4 separate regions of the Homo sapiens genome follow, and regions 2, 3 and 4 are each linked to region 1. Evidence: promoter capture Hi-C in 16 types of primary human blood cells and fetal thymus (Javierre and others, 2016). All regions are on one chromosome and are shown on one strand. The core of a region is centred on a gene start or on the middle of the fragment in contact, and the rest is flanking DNA. Distances in the headings are between cores, read along the strand shown.

Region 1 (2,837 bases), core at 173-2,672:
CTTCCAGTTTGGGGAATCACAGCAGAGCCTCTCCCACTATTTTGTTTTGGTCAACTTTCAGTGACAAATCCTTCTCCTGACAGCTGCCCCACCTGGTTGGGAGGACACCACCCCCCCTGGGGACCTTGCTTTCCCTCCCGCTTCTTGCCACCTTCAGCCTGGGGTGGGAGGCACTGGGGAGAGCTAAGGGAAGTGTGTTGCCTTGCCTCCTTCCTGGCCTTGGAAGACCTCTCTACAGAGCCCAGCGGCCCACGGTTCTGGAAGCAAGAAGGGTGCAGGTCCACCTTGGTGCTCGTCCAGGGCCATGGGGAAGAGAGCCTCCTGAGTCCAGCCATCTGTTTCTCATCAGTCCCCACTCAGCCCTCCCCTGAGGCTGCTCATCACGACCAGCCTGGAGTTTTCAGAGACAGCGGCCTCAGGCGGGCTGGGGACAGGAGAGTAGCCTCGGCCAGGGTTTCCTTCCGCTTACCCAGTCCTGAGTCTGCAGTCCCTGCTGAACGCTGCTCTGGATACTGGGCTGGCCCCAGGCTGCTATCAGGCCCAGTGGGGGCCGCCTGTGCTCTTGGGAGAGGTGCGACTCCAGCTTCTTCCCCCGGGGGGACAGTTTCCTGCTGTCCATCTCTAGCCCTAGTAGGCTGCTTGTCCACACCTCTGAGATCTGGGGGTAGGAGCAGGGGGAGGTGGGGCGGGGCCCACAAGGCCACCCACGTGCCCACCAATACCTGAGTCCCTGGGGGCAGATGGTGGCAGTATCGCGGTCTGCTAGGGTCACCTTCCAGCCAAAGGTCAGGCATCACTGACCCCTCTGGGTGGAGTGGATCCCCCAGCTCCCGCCGCAGCTCTTCTCCACACCAGCCTCCCGAACTGTCCTCTCTGCCCCTGCCGACCCCACCCCGGGAGCCTGGAAAGCCTTCGGCAGCCTGCTGCACGGACTCCACGCCTCTGCCAGCCTTCTCAAACGTTCCAGGGGCATCAGCCCTCAGCCAGCACTGCGGGCACGCTCTCAGGGCCCGGCCTTGCTACGCCCGGGGCGAAGGAAAGGCCCAGAGCTCTTGCCACAGCCCCGCTTCCGACCCTGAGACCTCCCCTCCACGCGGCCCAGGCCTCGCCCCAGGCCCAGCCCGGAGCCCTTACGTGCCCGCCCTCTCCGGTGGGGAGGCGGGGTCTGCGCGGCCGGGGTCCGCGGAGGGACGGGGGAAGAAGGCTCAGGACACACGCTGGAGGCCGTGGGCACTCTGGGGTTCGGCGGGGGGGCGGGGTACACGGGAACGGCGGTCGGAGGTGGGGGGTACGTGGGCACCCGGAGACAGAAGGAGGGACAGACCCGCCGCGGATGGAGAGGCCACAGGGGGCCGCTGGAGTACACCGCGGCTTGAGGGGGCCCAAGGGGCCGGCGCCTCGCTCCAGAACGTCCGCTACGGCAAGCCCCGCCCCCACCGGTTCCGCTTCCGGTCTGCGCCGCGCCTGCGTTCTGGGCTCCGTTGCGGCGGGTGGGGGATGGGCGCGGTCTGGGGGTCCCCGGCGCATATCCGGGTCTATGGCCGCTACCGCCCCACGGGCCCTTCCGGGCGTCGGCCTCCGGGGTCTCCCGAAGCACAGACCTGAACTTGGGGTTTGTCGGCCAGAGCCCCTTTCGGCCCTGCGCCCTTCAAGCGGCGCGATGCCGCTGAGCCCCGGGCCACCTCCGCGCGCGCGGGGCCGCAGGGCTGGGGCGGGGCGACCCAGGACGGGGCGCGCGGGCGGGAGGGAGGCGCTGCTCCGCCGCGTGCTCCCAAGGGGTGGACGGCCGAGAGAATCACACTGCAGGCGGGGGCCGGCCCCTCCAGGTTTATTAGTGTTGCATCAGCACCTTGAAATAGTCCACACGGTCACATACGTGACATTAGAATCCGTTCCCCAAAAAGCTATTTACATTAATCCAGGGTTTCATTAAAAAAAACTAGCAACACATACATCCTAGAAACCAAACAATGCACAATGAACCGCATGGGGGTCTGCAGAAACTACAGTGGTGCTTCTTTGGCCCACAGGGTCAGATTCCAGAGGTGCCCAGCAAGCCCAGCTCTCAGTCCCCTACAGGCCACACACCCGCGGACGGCAGGACAGGTCTCGGGGAGGGGGCGGCCTGGCCCTCGGAAGAAGTGGCCTGGTCATTTTCATGAGGAATTCATTCCCGGAGGAAGGCGAGAGGCACTCAGGTCTTTCCATCTGGGAATGAGGACAGTGTGGCAAGGCTGCCAGTACCCTGCAGAGACACCCCCAGCTCTCACCCAGAGGCCCCTCTCCTGCCCCAGCTCTGGCCGAGGCACTGAACCAGGACACTGGCTTGCATGCCCAGAGACAGTGGCCAAGGGGACCAACATGGAAGAGGAAGGCAGCAGACCAGATTGCAGGGCGGGACTGGCCCACAGCTGGCCTGGGTGAGGGTGGGGTCTGTCTACGTAATAGTGGACAGTGGCCACCAGGCCTGAGGGGTGCCTCGGTGGTGACTGGTGGCTTAACCTTTGAGACTGATGGGGCTGAGCCCTAGCTCTACAAGGGGCTGCCTCCTGTCCTGTGAGGCCAGTCCAGGGCCAGGTTCTCGGGGGGTGTGCACACCTCACACACACATCCCCCGCCCTTACCGCACTGGCTGTCAGATGGCTTTGGTTTCTAGTTGTCCTTGGTGGGACAGAGTGCTCCTCCATGCACCCTCAGAACAGCTCTGTGAGGTAGGCAGGGAAAATGCGACCATCCTGTGTAACCAGTGGGAAAACCGAGGCACAGAGGGCTGGCATGGCCCAGGTCTTGTCTGCCCAACCTCCCTGGTGCTGGGCATGGTGTGGGGGATGGACCGT
Region 2 (2,837 bases), core at 222-2,721, 150 kb before region 1:
ATACAGTGGTGCAACCATTGCTCACTGCAGCCTCCACCTTTCAAGCTCATGCTATCCTCCCACCTCAGTCTTCGGAGTGGTGGGGATTACAGACATGTGCCATGTCACCGGGCTAATTTTTATTTTTTTGTAGTGACAGGGTCTCACTAAGTTCCCAAGACTTGTCTTCAACTCCTAGTCTCAAAGGATCCTCCCACCTTGACCTCCCAAAGTGCTGGGATTATGGGCATGAGCCACCATGCCCAGCCTACAATCCAGGGGTAAGGCCATTCCAAAGCATCCAAGCTGACTATATTGAAATGACCCCAATAGGCCACCTCAAGTATTTACTAGTGATAGCAGACCACCTTACCCACTGGGCAGAAGCTCTCCCCTTCCCACGCGCAACAGCCAGTGATGCAGTTAAAACCCTGTTAGAACACATCATACCCAGGTTCAAACTAACAGAGACCACTGATTCAGACAATGGGACCCACTTTACCGTGCTCATTAAAGGGCTAACCCAAGCACTACAAATAAAGTGGGAATACCATACTCCCTGGCATCCACCCTCACCAGGAAGAGCAGAAAGAATGAACCAGACTCTAAAAACCCACCTACCTAAATTAATTCTAGAAACCCGGTTACCATGACTAAGTGTCTTCCCATGGCCCTATAAGAGTCTGAACTGCTCCCTGAAAAGACATCGGCCTATCCCCTTATGAAATGCTTCATGGGTTGCTTTATTTAAGTTCCACTACTCACCTCCCAACATTTGAGACAAACGATGAGTTTCTTAAAAACTATGTATCCAGTCTGTCTTCTATCCTCTCCTCCCTTGAATTCTCAGTTCAACACCAGCCCCGAGATCACATTCTTATCAGAAGTTGGAAAGGGGAAAAGCTTGAACCCACCTGGAAAGGACCTTATGTGATGCTCCTAACGACTGAGACGGCAGTCAGCCCGCTAAGGAGTAGACCCACCATACCCAGTCAAAAAGGAGTCTCCCTCTCCAAAGTCACGGACCTTCATCCCAGGACCAACCCCCACCAGAGTAACGTGAAAGAAAAAAGCCTAATTGGCCTGTCCGCATTTCCTCTTCTCTTTCCCTTAGCTACCCCACATCTCATTATTAATGTAACCACGGCAAAGTCACCCCAAATCATTACTTTTGATGCTTGTCTTGTTACACCTTGCGGAGACTTGGGACGTCAAACGCAGCTCTCTACTTCAGAAAAATGTCTTTGCGAAAAAAAATTACCTTTTTCGTGAATCACTGACATAATGAAAAACAACATGAAGCACAAGTTATCTTGATGGCACACAAAAATCCTTGTTTTTCCTAAGCCAATTACTTAAAACGTAAAAAAAAAAAACCTTCCGGCCTCCGCACCCAGGCCTGGGGGGCGGCGGGGCCGCGTATGGAGCCCCCCACCTCCCGGAGCTGCCAGCATGGCCAGCACCACCGCCCCGCTACACACAGGTACCCCTAGGATGGCGTGAGCACTCCCCCGGCGATGGACCCACCTGTGACGCTCTGGCACTTTCTGCTGCAGCTGAGAGCAAGGCAACGGCCACAGCTCCTGGACTTCATGGGATGGTGGTGGTTGCAGAGGAAGGTGGCCTAGCCGTGGGGGCGACGCAAGAACAAGACCAACGTGAATTACGACAAGCTCAGGCGGGCCTTGCCGTACTACTGTGTCTGGAATTGGTCGGTTCTTGATCTCACTGACTTCAACAACGAAGCCGCGGACCCTCGCAGTGAGTGCTACAGTTCTTAATAGGCGGCATGTCCCGCCGTTTGTTCCCTCATGTTCCGAGTTTTTGTTTTTTTTTTTCTTCTGGTGGGTTTGTGGTCTCGGTGGTTCAAGACTGAAGCTGCAGACCTTCGTGGTGAGTGTTAGAGCTTTTAAGGCACCGCGTCTAGAGTTGTTTGTTCTTCCTGGTGGGTTGGGGGTCTCGCTGGTTTCAGAAATGAAGCTACAGACCTTTACCATGAGTGTCACAGCTCACAAAGGCACTGTAAATGCAAAAACGAAGCAGTAACAAGATTTATTACAAACAGTGAAAAACAAAGCTTTCCCCTATAGAAGACGACCCTAACGGGTTGCCGCTGCTGGCTCAGGCAGCCTGCCTTTATTCCCTTATCTGGCCCCACCCACATCCTGCTGATTGGTCCATTTTACAGAGAGCCGATTGGTCTGTTTTACAGGGAGCTGATTGGTCCGTTTTGACAGGGTGCTGATTGGTGTGTTTACAATCCCTGAGCTAGACACAAAAGTTCTCCACGTCCCCACTAGATTAGCTAGATACAGAGTGTCAATTGGTGTATTTACAAACCCTGAGCTAGACACAGTGCTCATTGGTGCATTTACAAACCTTGAGCTAGATACAGAGTGCTGATTGGTGCATTCACAGTCCCTTAGCTAGACATAAAGATTCTCCAAGTCCCCACCAGATTAGCTAGACACAGAGCGCTGATTGGTGCATTTACAACTCTTGAGCTAGATACAGAGTGCTGATTGGTGTATTTACAATCCCTTAGCTAGACATAAAGATTCTCCAAGTCCCCACCAGATTAACTAGATACAGAGTGCCGATTGGTGCATCCGCAAACCCTGAGCTAGACACAGGGTGCTGATTGGTGGGTTTACAAACCTTGAGCTAGATACAGAGTGCTGATTGGTGTATTTACAATCCCTTAGCTAGACATACAGGTTCTCCAAGTCCCCACCAGATTAACTAGATACAGCGTGCCAACTGGTGCATCCACAAACCCTGAGCTAGGCACAGGGTGCTGATTGGTGTGTTTACAAACCTTGAGCTAGATACAGGGTGCTGATTGGTGTATTTACAAT
Region 3 (2,837 bases), core at 218-2,717, 150 kb after region 1:
CTCTTGCACTCCGCCTCGGCCCAGTTCAGGACGGCCTCGAAGACCACCGCCTCTTTGGTGTTGAGGGCCTCCCGAGTGACAATGATCTCCAGCGTCTGCCGGTCTATCTCACAGAAGCCTTCGGACCGTAGGGCCATCTCGGCCTGTGCGTCAATGACCTCCCAGCAGCGCTGCGTCAGCTCGGGCTCCTCAAACAGCCGGCTCTGGGACAGCAGGACGCAGGCGTTCTTGGCTTCCAAACTTGTCTCCAGAAAGTTGACACAGGCTTTTGCCAATGCTGGGACGATGTACTTCTTAGCAGCGTACAGAGTGGCCAGCACCGTGTCGGCTTCCAGATCGATCTCATCACTGTACATGTACCTAGGCGAGGCAGGGCCCGCGTCAGGGGCTGGCTCCCAAGCACCCATCGCGGGGCTGGGCCTGGGAGAGGAGTCCATCAGCTCCTGTGTGCTTCCCTTCAGAAGCCTCCGGAGGCCGCCTAAAACGGACCCACCCGTCCCTCCCCAGTAGAGTGGACTTACTTTAAGAGGATCAGAAAGGCTGCGGGCTCCACGTCTGGAATGTGAATTTCAGATTTGACTTCCGCCAGGTCTCCGTAGAACATGGCATAGAAGACGGAGCTGCCGACAGCCAAGACGTACTGGGAGGAGAAAGCGCCGCCGTGAGCCTGGCTCTCCCGCAGGCTGCGTGTCAGCCACACGGCGGACGGGGCGGACGGGGCACGCGTTCCGAGAGGGGCCGCCGCTACCCACCTTGTGGGCGGGCACCGTCCTGGTCGCCCCCGGGGGCCCCACGACGAAGTGCACGTCGGCCATGAGCTCGTTGTTGAACATGAGCGCGTTCCTGCAAAGGTAGAGGCACGGGCTGGGGGCGTGGGCGCGCGCGGGCGCGGGGGCCGCGGGGCACGGGCTCACCTCTCGCGCAGCGTGGGGCGGCAGCACCGCCAGCCGGGGCTCTCCTGGTGGTTGTTGCCGAGTGTGGGCGGCGCGGGCGCGGGCGGCGGCGGCGCTGGCGCGGGGGCGCTGGGCGGGCTGCGCGGCCCGGCCTTCCTGCCCACGGCGGCGCCGGCGTTGCTGTTGGCTAGGTCCGCGGCCGCGGCGCTGGCGGGAGCGTAGAGTTCCGCCGCCATCTTCGCGGGCGGGGCGGCGGGGGCAGCCTCGGCGCCTGTGGACGCCGCGCCCCGCGCCCTCGCGCCGCGCCGGGGCCTCGGGAGCGGCTCTGCAAGCAAAAGCAAGGAGGTCAGGCACTGAGCGACGCGGCCGTGCAGGCAGGCTAGGGGCAGCAGCATGGGCGGCGGCGGCGCTGTGACCCGCGGGGCTGCCACCCGCTCCCCTGCCACCCCCGCCCCTGCGACCCTGCCCGAGCCCAGCCTAGCGCAGCCCGGCCAGGCCCGGCCGCGGGGGGCGCCGTCCCGCCCGCCCGCCCGCCCGAGCCCGTACCCGCCGCGGCGCCGGTGCGTCACGCTGCGTCAGGGCCGCGCCCCGCGCGACGTCGCTGCCTCGCGGCCCCGCCCCCAGGCCCGACATCCTCGAAGCTGCTCGAGCTTCTGCCCAGCAACCGGCGCGAGCCGCGCGCTGTGCAGAGGTAGCCGTGGAAGGCGGCTCCCGGCGCTGGCAGGCGGCCGCCCCCAGACCCGCAGTGCCATGCGCAGGTGCTTGCGCCCGTTCTTCAGTTAGCGATCTTTTGGTTAGGAACGCAGGTGGACCTGCTTGTTTGGCCATTTGCATTCCGGAGTCTGCCTCTGGCCGCGGCCTGTGGGATGGTCGTTGGGCTTCCTCGTTCGTTCAGATGCTTCGCGATTTAGCTTGCTACGGACGCCAGCAGCCAGCGCTTGCAGAGAGCGCGGTCCACTCTGCTCTGAGGGCTTTACAGGGGCAGGCGCTGCTATTTCCCGGCATTTTCCTCGAGGAAATAGGCACAGAGAGGTTAGTCGCGCGCTGAAGGTCACACAGCCGGCGGGTGGGCAAGTCAGGATCTGGCCCTGGGCCTGCAGCCCTGGAGCTTGGGCCCCAGGGCGCGCCCTGCCTCTGTGGCTCTGCCTGTGGATCGCAGTCGCAGGCTCGCTCCTTGTGGGGCCTCTAGCCTCCCGGCCTGGGGCTAATCCTGGGAGGTGCGTGGCATGGGGCACTGGCTTTGCTGATGAGGAGACCAGACTTCAGAGGCCGTGTCACCTGGCCTGGGCCGCACAGCTGGTGCATGCCAAGCTCGCGTGCAGACGAAGCTCCAGAGGCCTGGCTGTCAGGAGGGTTCCTCCCCGAGGACACACACGCAACCTCCTGGACCGCCAGGCTTTAGACTTTTAAAACTTCCATATGCAGGAAACCCCACAGGACGCAGCCAGCATCTCGGGTCATGGGTGCACCTGTCACCGCAGTCCTGGGCTAAACAGTGAACAGGAGCTCTGTGTCTCTGTGGTCGTTACAGTTGTAGTGAATGTTCCCTGGGAGAGTCCTCTTCAGAAGATATTTGCGGTATTTTCAACAAAGGACTCTCCAGGATGGAGGAGCAACTACAAGTCAGGAAGGAAAAGGCTGACAACCCAGTTTTTTAAAAAACGGGCAAAGGACGTGAACAGACACCATGCAATGGCCCAGAGTGCACAAATCATCATTTCTCCCAGGAATGGGGTGCCCGAGCCCCCAGGCGGCTGAACTTGAGACTTGTCACGTAGTGTTGGTGGAATGCAGAGCAGCTGGAGATCACCTGCTGCAGGTGGGTGCGTAACTCCGCACGGCCAAGCCGTTTGGAAAGCTGTAGCATATGCATGAGAGTCCGGAAAGTTCCGAGAGAAAGTGTGTGGATGCACCCGCCAAGGACACACCCACCGAGGCCACAGC
Region 4 (2,837 bases), core at 238-2,737, 130 kb before region 1:
CCCCATGGCTCCGCATTGCCTTGGCGAGGTGTTGTCCCCCACCCTCTGCCCCGGCAGAGCCACCCTGCTTTGCTCCTCTGCGCCAGGGCGATGCCTGTGGCTGCCCTCGAATCTCGGGAAGCCCGTCCACCAAGGCCCGTCGGGCTTCCACAGGCCCCTGCACCTCTGTCACACACCTGGCACTGGTCCTCATGGCCGTGCTGTCGGAGTCCCCGCACCTGGGCCTGTGCACACCTGGGTGACAATGGAGGCCCGCACACCCGCACCCACCCCAAAGTCACTGACAGGCTTACTCCCAGCCAGCCCCTCACCCCCTCCACAGCCCCAGGCCTGGGGCTCCGTTTACTGCCGTGTCTAGACAAAGGCATAAAATTTAATGTCCCCGTGACAGTCGGGCGCTCGGACTGCCCTGGTGACACCGCAGGCCCCACCGATCCGGGAAAGCGTTGAACTCTGCACTCCCACCCCTGCCCCCACCCAGCACCCGCCGCCCAGGATCCCCACAGCCACACACAGGACACCCCCACCCCTCGGAGCTCTGACAGGTCGCGAGGAGGGTGCCTTGAGGGTCCTCAGCCCATGCCCCTGCCTCCAAGCCTCCCCGCGCTCTGGGTCCCACCGGGACACTCACCCGGTTTTCACGTCCACTGGATCTACACGTCTGACCCAGGAAGCCCTCTCTGGGCCCATTCCAGGCCCACCTGGGCCTCCCCTAGCTGCAGCCGCAGCCTGAGAATTTCCTCCCTCTCCGCGCGTGGCGGGGCCAAATAAATAGCGGGGGAGCCACGGCGCCGCTCACCCTTTCCGGCCGTGCCTCCAGCCCCTCCGCCCCACTACGCTGTCGCTCGATCCTCAGTCACTTGGCAGATGCGGGCCGAGGGGCTCTGCGCTGGCGAAGGGACGGACTCCAGCCCCTAGCGGAGCCCCTACCCCGGCAAGCCAGAGCCCGGCCCGGCCACCTCTCCGTAGGGACCTGGCCCCAGGCCCACCTGTCCTGGGTCTCCTGGGCCCCGGCCGAGGCCCCTCCTCCCCCCACGCCCCGCGGCTCAGACCTGGCACAGACTCTGGGGCCTCCAGGCCCTTCACTGCCCGGGCCCCGCAAGGACCCTCGCCCCATAACCACCCCTCGGAGCCCCCGGGAGGAGGGGCGGGAGGGGGCTGCTGTGCTCCCGCCGCGGGCCGGTGCAGAGCTTGGGCCGCTCCCAGCAGGCTGCGTCTCTGCTTGTCCCCCCGAGGCTTCCCCACGCAGGGCCGGGTCCCCGTCACCCCGCCGGCCCCAGGCCTCACCCCTGCCGCATCGGCCCCCGCCCCACCCCACAGTCCCCACGGCCCAGAGGTGCAGGGTCGCCCAGGCCCGCCGCCCCCTCCGCGGACGCAGCCGCGCACCCAGCCAGTCCCGCCCGCGCCCGCGCCTACCCCGCCGCCCGCAGATGCTGCGCCGCTCCCGGGCCCGCCCGCCCAGCCTCTGCCGCCACTGCCGGGGCCGCGCCGGCTCCTCCCGCCGCGCCCCTCCCCCGCCCGCGCGGCACCGCCCCCGACCCAGAGGCCCCGCCCCGCGCCCCTCGGCCCGCGAGCCCCGCCGGACCTGGGGACCTGGGAGCGCGGGGGTGCCGGTGCCCCGCCCCCTCCGCAGCGCCGGTTGCCACGGCGACAGCACCGCGCGGCGGCGCGCAGGACTGGTGGCTCTGGGGAGCGGGGCGCCCTCGCGCACCCCCAGGCGCGGAGTCCCGTCTCCACCCTCCTCACCCACCGCCCAGAATCCCAGGGTCCCGCCCAGTGCCCCCCGCGCCCTGAAACTCCGCTGCCGCCCCCTAGAGCGACCCCACTCAGCCGGACAGGCGCCCACCGGCCCAGGAGCTGACAGGGATGTAGGCGCGGGGCTGGCCTGGCCGCCGGGGCCCTCCGCGCCACCCTCTGTCCTCTTTGGGGAGAAACCCAGCCTTCCCAGGTTTCTTCTCAGGGCAGAGGAAAGGAATGATGAGCGGCCCCCACCTTCTTCTCCAGCCCGTCCAGGAGGCAAGCTAGGGTTTGGGGACTTGGGCTTCATTTTGTCACTGAGGTGGCACTAAGCCCCTCCCCCCACATCCTGTCCATCCCGTGTGAGCCAGAGAAGAACCCGAGGGCACCTTCTGCCTGCCTGCCCTCCTTCCCAGAACTGCTGTGACTTCCCTCTGACATAGGAGGAGACTGAGGGTCAGAGAGGTAAAGGGACACCAGATTTGGTGGAAAGACCAGAATTTGAGGCACCACCCAACTGGTAGTGAACTTCCAGATTCTCTTCCCGTATCCCCGGGCCTGGACTCAACACGGCCTGAAAGCCAGAAGAGGACAGAGAGCTCCAGAAGTTCTCTAGTCCTGGCACAAGGGGAGGAAAGAAAAAGGTCGCCTAATGCTCCCAGGGTGCAGGAGAATGCCCGGGGGGATGTTAGGGTTTGGGAGGATGGGGTTTTTTGGTAGTGGTTGTTTTTTTACTCTTCTCCATTCTCTGATGCCCCAGCCCCTAGGTATCCCACCAAAGCCATGACCAAGGCATAGGGTTTACAAGCACCTAAAACGCTGAGGCAGAAGAGCCTTCCTTTCCAGCCCCAGGAGATGTGGTCCCCTGTCGCTGGAGAGATGGTGGGCAGGGAGAAGCAGTAGAAAGCAATCCATGGGCTGGGCGTGGTGGCTCACACCTGTAATTCCAGCACTTTGGGAGGCCGATGTGGGCGGATTACCTGAGGTCGGGAGTTCGAGACCAGCCTGGCCAACATGGTGAAACCCCCATCTCTACTAAAAATATAAAAATTAGCCGGGCGTGGTGGCACACACCTGTAATCCCAGCTACTCGGGAGGCT

The links. The method cuts DNA at HindIII sites, captures the fragments that hold promoters and counts their contacts. A CHiCAGO score of 5 or more calls a contact.
Region 2: a fragment that was not itself captured here is called in contact with the fragment with the promoter of TEX22 in region 1 in 1 of 17 cell types (total CD8 T cells); the score reaches 5.6 in total CD8 T cells.
Region 3: the fragment with the promoter of BTBD6 here is called in contact with the fragment with the promoter of TEX22 in region 1 in 6 of 17 cell types (monocytes, erythroblasts, endothelial precursors and 3 more); the score reaches 8.6 in monocytes.
Region 4: the fragment with the promoter of TMEM121 here is called in contact with the fragment with the promoter of TEX22 in region 1 in 2 of 17 cell types (total CD8 T cells and erythroblasts); the score reaches 5.5 in total CD8 T cells.

Annotation. Positions count from the first base shown.
Region 1 is chr14:105,397,123-105,399,959 of GRCh38, reverse strand. It overlaps TEX22 (testis expressed 22), which reads right to left and starts at 1,422. Exons shown (of 4, transcript NM_001195082.2): 1 at 1,325-1,422; 2 at 470-658. The coding sequence starts at 619. It overlaps PACS2 (phosphofurin acidic cluster sorting protein 2), which reads right to left. Exons shown (of 25, transcript NM_001100913.3): 25 at 1,813-2,837. RefSeq lists enhancers at 311-821, 822-1,332 and a silencer at 1,000-1,909. The HindIII fragment of the contact is 23,339 bases long and covers 1-2,837 here.
Region 2 is chr14:105,548,352-105,551,188 of GRCh38, reverse strand. It overlaps LOC105370698 (a long non-coding RNA gene), which reads right to left. Exons shown (of 4, transcript XR_001750918.2): 2 at 1,507-1,999. It also overlaps the pseudogene ELK2BP. Among named protein-coding and RNA genes, the nearest start is that of TMEM121, 23 kb to the right of the region's middle. The HindIII fragment of the contact is 1,174 bases long and covers 885-2,058 here.
Region 3 is chr14:105,247,163-105,249,999 of GRCh38, reverse strand. It overlaps BTBD6 (BTB domain containing 6), which reads right to left and starts at 1,467. Exons shown (of 4, transcript NM_001387567.1): 1 at 915-1,467; 2 at 753-843; 3 at 522-640; 4 at 1-360. The coding sequence starts at 1,288. All of the region lies in intron 5 of BRF1 (BRF1 general transcription factor IIIB subunit), which reads left to right. RefSeq lists enhancers at 1-259, 1,051-1,841 and silencers at 866-915, 1,116-1,675. The HindIII fragment of the contact is 26,340 bases long and covers 1-2,837 here.
Region 4 is chr14:105,525,233-105,528,069 of GRCh38, reverse strand. It overlaps TMEM121 (transmembrane protein 121), which reads right to left and starts at 1,487. Exons shown (of 2, transcript NM_025268.4): 1 at 1,417-1,487. The HindIII fragment of the contact is 18,865 bases long and covers 1-2,837 here.